2 separate regions of the Homo sapiens genome follow, and region 1 is linked to region 2. The links are contacts of gene promoters, found by promoter capture Hi-C in blood cells and fetal thymus (Javierre and others, 2016). All regions are on one chromosome and are shown on one strand. Each heading gives the region's core, a stretch centred on a gene start or on the middle of the fragment in contact. The rest is flanking DNA. Distances are from core to core; before and after follow the strand shown. Region 1 holds the start of TBC1D14 (TBC1 domain family member 14). Region 2 holds the start of LYAR (Ly1 antibody reactive).

Region 1 (3,437 bases), core at 875-3,374, 2.6 Mb after region 2:
AGAGGGCGCCAGGTGCAAATCTGCAGGACCACAGACTTCGGTTCTGGATACAGAACAATGGTTCCTTGTCATTGTAGGGTTTTAGACCCTAAGACTCGGAATTAGGGCTGGAAGGGATTTGGGAGCCCCAAGCAGATCTATTAATCCAACGCATTAAATTGCTAATTAAGTCACGACTGAAGCAGTCTGTACTTTTCCACTAGGGTTTACTTAGAAAAAGCTGGGGAGGCCTTGTTTTAAGAGGTATGAAGGAGGCCTCGTATTATTTTTACTTAAAACCCCCAGAAATTTAAGCATTTATAAAGTTTCTGTGATGCAGCACTGCGAGGGATGTTAATGTTTTTGCTTTCAAGAGATCGCCTTTAAAAATCTCTCTTGCTTCTGCGTCATATCTCATAGATGCTCAGGGTTTTTACAGCCATGAGCTGGAGAGGAGACCCAAGTTCGGGGTTCCCTAGCCCATCCCTAACGACCGCAGTAGAGACAAATCTTCCATTTCATGCTTCCAGATGCTTCCTGTAATGCGGAAACTCCTCCTGCCCCTGACCTTTCTGAGTGGCTGAGTCTTCCCTTAGATTGGGCTGCAGTCAGTCTCTCCCGGGTTTCCTCTCTGGTAATTTATCTGCCAGTGACAACCCTCAGGGCTCCTGGTTGGCAGGAGCCAAAGCCAAGTGGAAATCCAGGACTTCTGGCTCCCAGCGCTGGGTCTCTCCTCTTGCCCTCAAGTCCCCAGAGTCTAACGACAACCCAATAACGTCAAATACCAACTATTTGCCAGGCCCAGGGAAAATAGCAGTAAACAAGATAAGCCCGGCTTTCCTCATGGAACCCACAGCCTAGAAGGGGAATGGAGACCCACTGCCCGTCAACAGGGGCTCCTCACATACTCTCTACCAGCTCATGGAGGGCTCTGGGGCAGGGAACCTGGCTTCTGCCCCTCTCAGCTACTGACCCACCCGGGTCCTTGGGCGGAGGGCTTCATCTCTGAGCCCGTTTCCCGCTTTGTACAATGGCTCTGATCATAGATCCCGTCTCTGGAGTTTGTGCAATGTTGAGGCCAAATATGCAGATAACGCCAGGCCAGTGGCTTCCAAACCCGCGTGCACATTACACAGCTTCCCAAACTGATGATGCTTCCATCTCATCTTCAGAGACTGTGACTTAATCGGCCTGGGCTTCAGAATATTAAAAGCTCCGCAGGCAATACTAAAGTGCAGACCAGTTTGGGAACTACAGCGCCAGGCACCGTGTCACAGCGCGATAAGAGAGAACGTTCGGAAAAGCCCTTTATAGATTAAGAGACTGAGGCTGGCTGGGAGGACGCCACGGCGCCGCTCCCAAGACCACCGCGGCGGGGCCTGAGCTCCGGTGTCACGCAAAGCTTCCCTTCCGCGGCGGGGCCCGGGCCGTCTCCCGCACACCGGCCGGGGCAGGGGAGCCCCATCGATGCGCTCCGCCGCTCGGCTCCCTACGCCTGAGCCCTGCCCGCTCGAGCCCCTTCCCCCTCCCGGCCGCTTCCCACTTCCAAGATGGCTGCGGGTGGAGCCGACCAGGTAAGGGGCCCCCTGTCGGATGTCCGTGGGGGCCCTGCGGGCACAAAGGCCCGCTCAAGGCAGCTCCTCGCCACTCCGGTTGGTTCTCCGGCAAAAAAAAAGGGCCGGCGACGCCGCTCCGGAGGCCCGCGGCGGGCGGCCCCCGGAAGAGGGACAGCCGGGCGAGCGCCGAGCTCCAGACGCGGCGGCACGGGCGGAAGAACGGGCGCGGGCCGGCAGGGGGCGGGGCGCAAGTGCGTGGGGGCGTGCCCAGGGGGCGGGCGAGGGGGCGGGGCGAAGCGAGGGTGCGCGCCGCTGTTCGCCGCGGGCTGCTCGCGCGCACCTGCGGGTCGGACCCGCTGCCTACCGCGTGCCCGGCGTCCTCGTCGCGCGAGTTGCCGGTCCCGCGGGGCCTGGGCTGCGGGCCCACGGGTCCCGGGGATGGCGTCGGAGCCGCGCTAACTCCGGTACTGAGAGCCTCCCGCGAGGGCCGGGCCGCGGGCCGCGAGGGAGGGCAGGGCGCGCGGGGCCGCCACCTGCTGCAGCGCCGGCCGAGGCGGGGAGCGGCCGGGGCGAGGCAGGTCGCCGGGCGCGGGTCCTGCTGGGTGTCCCTCGCCGCGCGGCCGCGGCTCCTGCACGCCAGGGCAGCGCGTGCGTGGCGCCCGGGGTGCCGTTACGGGGCCTCCGGGGCGGGGGCGACTCTCGGGACTCGGCGGCCCTCGCGGAGGCGCGCGCTGTGTCCCGCTCCTTTACGGAACTTGACGAAAAGTTTTCCTACTCCGACGCGAGGCTCCCGGCCTGAGAAGAGGCGCCTCGGTGCGCCAGACCCCGACCCCGGAGCCCCCTTCCACCTCGGACCCTCAGTCCCCAGGCAGCGGACCCTCCTCCTTGGAGCCCCTGACCCCGCTTTCATCTCTGACCCCTCTACCCCTGGAGCCCCTGACCCGCGAAACCCCCTTTCATCTCGGAGCCCTGACCTCCTTGGACCTCCACCCACGCGAACCGTCTGTCCCTGGGCTAGGGAATCTCTCTGCCTCCGCCTTGGAGCCTCCCATTACCGGGCCGCGAAGACCCTGGCCCGGGGACTGTCTCGGGGCCGGGGTAGCTGCCTTGAGGAGTAAGTCCGGGGACTCCTGGTCTCCCTCCCGCCAGGAGTCTCTCTAGGCTGTGGGTTGCGGTCCTGATGGGAACAGCTGGTCAGGAGGATAGGAGAATGACCCTGTGGACTCCAGAGCCAGCCTCTGCGAGCCCCGGGGTGACCGCGCCTGACCAGGCCACGTGAAGTCGTTTCTGTCCTAAAGTTGCATAGGACGCCGTTTTCTCTAGCGTGGAATTGGAAGCTTTGCTTGGGAAGGTTTTATAGGCACCGGTGCGTTTTGCCCCTACTGGAGGTCCCTGGGCATCACCTTGGTTATTTCACGCACTGAGGCTAGATGAGGAGGGTAGTCGTGGTGGTGTCTTGGGGACAAAATGCTCACTGTCTTGTCCCCAGTATTGTAGGATGTTGGCACCTAGTTGCTGTCTTGCCTAGCTTTTATAGCGGTGGGTTGCCTGTTGGAAACTGGTGGTTGCTTTGTCTGGACCGGGCTAGTCCTTACAGCAGTCTTAGAACACTTCCTGTTGCCCAGTTTATCTGGCCAGTACCAACCCATATCTCAGTTTGGGTATGGCTTCCCCCCTCCGACCAACCCTCTTACTGCTTCTTTGCTGTGTGTTTGACCCCTTGAGATTGTGGGCTCCGCAATCCTAATGAGATCCCCAGTCCTAATGAGAGCCTGGCATGAACTTGGTGCTCAGGGTCATTGGGCGAAAACACCTTTTGGGAAACATCAAGGGTGTCAGCTGGTACTAAGGGAGACAGAGTAACTGGCTGGGAGCCACCCACATGGGGAGAGTCAGAGATGG
Region 2 (3,695 bases), core at 566-3,065:
TCCAACCTTCTCTGGCTCCTCACCCCATGGCTGCCTACTTTACCAAGTTCCCTGATAACATGCCCTTAGGTTTGGTTCTGAGATTGGAATGATTTTTTTTAAATCTTCTTCCCTCTATATTTTTGTATTACTTATTCAATTTTTTTTCTTTTTTTTTTTTTTTTTGAGACGGAGTCTCATTCTGTTGCCCAGGCTGGAGTACAATGGCGCAATCTCGGCTCACTGCAGCCTTTGCCTCCCAGGTTCAAGTGATTCTCCGGCCTCAGCCTCCCCAGTAGCTGGGATTACAGGCACATGCCACCATGCCCGGCTAATTTTTGTATTTTTAGTAGAGACGGAGTTTCACCATGTTGGCCAGGCTGGTTGTGAACTCTTGACCTCAGGTGATCCACCCTCCTCGGCCTCCCAAAGTGCTCGGATGACAGGCACGGGCCACTGCGCTTGGCCTTGACTATTCTTAAAATATTCTTGCATGCACATGCAGACACTGACCTACACATCATTACCACCACTACCACTCAAACAGCCCACCTGAGGGGCCTAGCTGGCAACCCCAGGATATCCCCCACTGAACACTGTGACCCTGAGCATGCCACTGCCTCTATAAACTTCAAGTTATCTCATCTGTGAAACAAGAAGTCAGGCCAACTTGACAAGACTCAAGCCCCTTCCACGGGTAGCATTCTGAGAAACCATGGGTATGGTGCAAGAGAAGGACAGACAAACATACTCTGTCCACCATCCTGCCTAAACCTTTGTGTATGAGGCTGACAAGGGTTACAATGGGTGACATTCACAAGGAGAGAATCTCTCCCTTGTTCCTTGCAAAAGCCCTGGGAAGTAGGTGCACCTATCTCCACTAAACAGATGAGCAAACTGAGGCACAGAAGCCATTTCTCTCTGCCTCCTACCCCACCCACGGCATCACCAGCACTGTTTTAAACACCATCCCTTCACTCGAGTAACTACCATGTGTCAGGCACTATGCTAGACCCTGGGAGCCTCGGGCACAGTGTGAGTAAGTCCCAAGTGGGCCCTCTCTGCTAGAAATCAGGGTTGCAAATACAGACCCCACCTCATCCTCCTCCCTCTCTCCTCAGAGGTAGGTGCTTCAGAGAATCCTAACATTCATGGAGCACCCAAGCCCTCTCATAGGAGGTTAACACATTTCTACTCATGTAATCCTCATCACAGTTCTCCGAGTTAGATTCTATATGTTATGACAGATGAGGAAAGTGAGGCGCAAAGAGGTTAAAAAACTTACACCAGGTCATCCCACATCCAGGTAGTGGCAACCCAGATTCACACGCAGTAGTTATTCTGATCCTAAGTATGTGCTCTGGACCGCTACATCCTAAGGCCTCCTCTTTAGGGACTGATCTCCCAAGGCTCAGAGAAGAGCCCTGTCTCCAACATGCAGCAAGCCTGAAGCCCAGTCGGGCGGTGACCAATCGTCCTGGTTTGGCCAGGCCCGAGGGAGTTCCCAGGACGCCGGACCTTAAGTTTTAAAACTAAAACGAGTTGGTCACCCTAAGTCCAGGACTCCTGCCACTTCCCCAGAGCAGGAGTGAGATCTGAATGGAACTCCTTCCTCCATGCGTAACCCAGAGGGGCTGACGGTGGAAATCCCGTCCCTCCCCTACTCACTCTCTGAGCCCCAGCCTCCCAGGTCGGACCTCTGGGCCACCACCCCTCACCTCTCAGCCAGCGCCCGCCAACGGTTTCAACCGGCCGCGGGGAGCACGTGGACTCGCCGCCGCCAGCCCAGCGCCGCAGCTACCTGCCTCTCAGGCTTCGCGGTGCAGAATTCGCTTCTGAACCACCCAGCGCGCCTGCGCACCGCGGCCACGCCCCCCCCAGTGGAAGTGACGCCAACGGAAGCAGGAAGGCGGTTCCGGCAAGCCAAGGGGGCGTTGTCGTGATGATTCCGCGGCCAGCGGATCGCTGCGAGTGGCCTTGAAGGCAGCTGCTGCAGGTGAAGAGTAGGCGGCGGGGCAGAGAGCGGCCTCCGAGGGTAAGGTGGCCGGCCTTGCGAAGGCGTGCGGGGCTGGCGCTGGTGGGAATGGCCCGGAAGGGAAGGGAGGCCGGGCGCCCGAAGGTGGCCCAGAAGGGCATGGACCCACCGCTCCTTCCCGTCTCTGGGCACTCGAGGATACCCGGGGGGTTGGCGGCTCCTGCGAGAGTCAGCGAGCATTTGCTCTGTGCCGGGCATCACAGGGGACGCGGACTGAGACCCAGACGGCCAGGTTCCGGGCCTGGGAGCCGGGCCTTCTCCCTGGTGCAGCTTCCTCGGCCTGGAAACCCCACCCGCGCCCTCTCATCTCCAGGCTTTGCCCGCTGGAAGCCAGCCCGGCCCGCCTCCGCTACGCGCTGCCCATCTCTCGGCTTCTGTTTCCTTCCACGCTGTAGTTGAGAGTAGCGCTTAAGACGACAGAGCCCACAGCCTAGCTCAGTTTCATTACGGTGTGGCCTCTTTGTGCCTCAGCCCCGCATCTGTAAAGCGAATGTCATAGCGGCACCTGCGTCCCTGGAACCTTGTCGTATTTCATGAGTTGGTGCATGTAAATCGCTTAGACTAGTGGCTGCCACTTAGTAAGTACTCAATAAACGTTAGCTCTTCTCAGCCCTTAAAACAGGGTCTGGCACACAGTGGTGGTCACTAGGTGTTTGTTGCTTAAATGAATGAATGAAAGTTGAGTGGAGGATGCACAGAGTATTGTGAGAAACCTTCACTCCCAAGGTGTGTGTATATGGGTGATAAGGTTTCACTCTGAAAGTGAGCAGTGTTGGGCCTGGAATAGAAGGTGTATTAGTTTGCTAGGACTGCAAACAAAATACTGGGTGGCTTAAACAACAGAAATTTATTATTTTCTCACAGTTCTGGAGGTTAGAAGTCCAAGATCAAGGTGTCTTCAGGTTTGGTTTCTTCTGAGACATTTCTCCTTGGCTTGCACGTGGCTGCTTTCTTGCTGTGTCCTCGCATGGTCTTTCCTCTGTGTTTTCACATCTCTGGCGTCTCTCTTTGCATCCAGATTTCCTCTTTATGAGAACGTCAGTCAGGTTGTATTAGGGCCCACCTTAATGGCCTCATTTTAACTTAATTACCTTCTTACAAGCCTGATCTCCAAATACAATCACATTCTGGAGTGCTGGGGGAACAGTTTAACCATAACAGAAGGAATTCACAGAAATGGACAAGGAGGGAAATACTTTCCAACAGAAGTGACAGAATGGCCAGGAGGCTTAAAAGCAGGGTGCTCAAGATGTTTTTTGTGTTCAGGGCACATATGTGTACTTCAGTCTTGTTTGTGCTCTCGTACTGTTTTTGGGTTTGGTTGTTGTTGTTTGTTTGTTTGTCCTCCTGAATACTCAAAGAAAGTGAGCCCTCTCATTTTTTTAGTCTGGCAAACTTAACTCACATTTCAGCATAGATGTGTCTTCCAGGAAGTTTTCCCTGACCCTCCCTCCCAAATTAATTTCTGCTTCCTCCATTTAATAACTTTGGTACAGGGCTGGGTGCGGTGGCTCACGCCTGTAATCCCAGCGCTTTGGGAGGCCGAGGCAGGCAGCTCCTGAGGTCAAGAGATAGAGACCAGCCTGGCCAACATGGTGAAACCCTGTAAACCCCATCTCTACTAAGAGTACCAAAATTAGGCGGGTGTGGTGGCGCATGCCTGTAATCCCAGCACTTTGGG

What was found. The method cuts DNA at HindIII sites, captures the fragments that hold promoters and counts their contacts. A CHiCAGO score of 5 or more calls a contact.
Region 1: a fragment that was not itself captured here is called in contact with the fragment with the promoter of LYAR in region 2 in 1 of 17 cell types (fetal thymus); the score reaches 7.7 in fetal thymus.

What each region holds. Positions count from the first base shown.
Region 1 is chr4:6,907,953-6,911,389 of GRCh38, forward strand. TBC1D14 (TBC1 domain family member 14) reads left to right here and starts at 1,874. Exons shown (of 14, transcript NM_020773.3): 1 at 1,874-1,999. RefSeq lists a silencer at 1,241-2,300 and an enhancer at 2,541-2,610. The HindIII fragment of the contact is 1,491 bases long and covers 1,380-2,870 here.
Region 2 is chr4:4,288,339-4,292,033 of GRCh38, forward strand. LYAR (Ly1 antibody reactive) reads right to left here and starts at 1,816. Exons shown (of 10, transcript NM_017816.3): 1 at 1,698-1,816. ZBTB49 (zinc finger and BTB domain containing 49) reads left to right here and starts at 1,913. Exons shown (of 8, transcript NM_145291.4): 1 at 1,913-2,014. RefSeq lists enhancers at 1-303, 304-841. The HindIII fragment of the contact is 4,525 bases long and covers 1-3,695 here.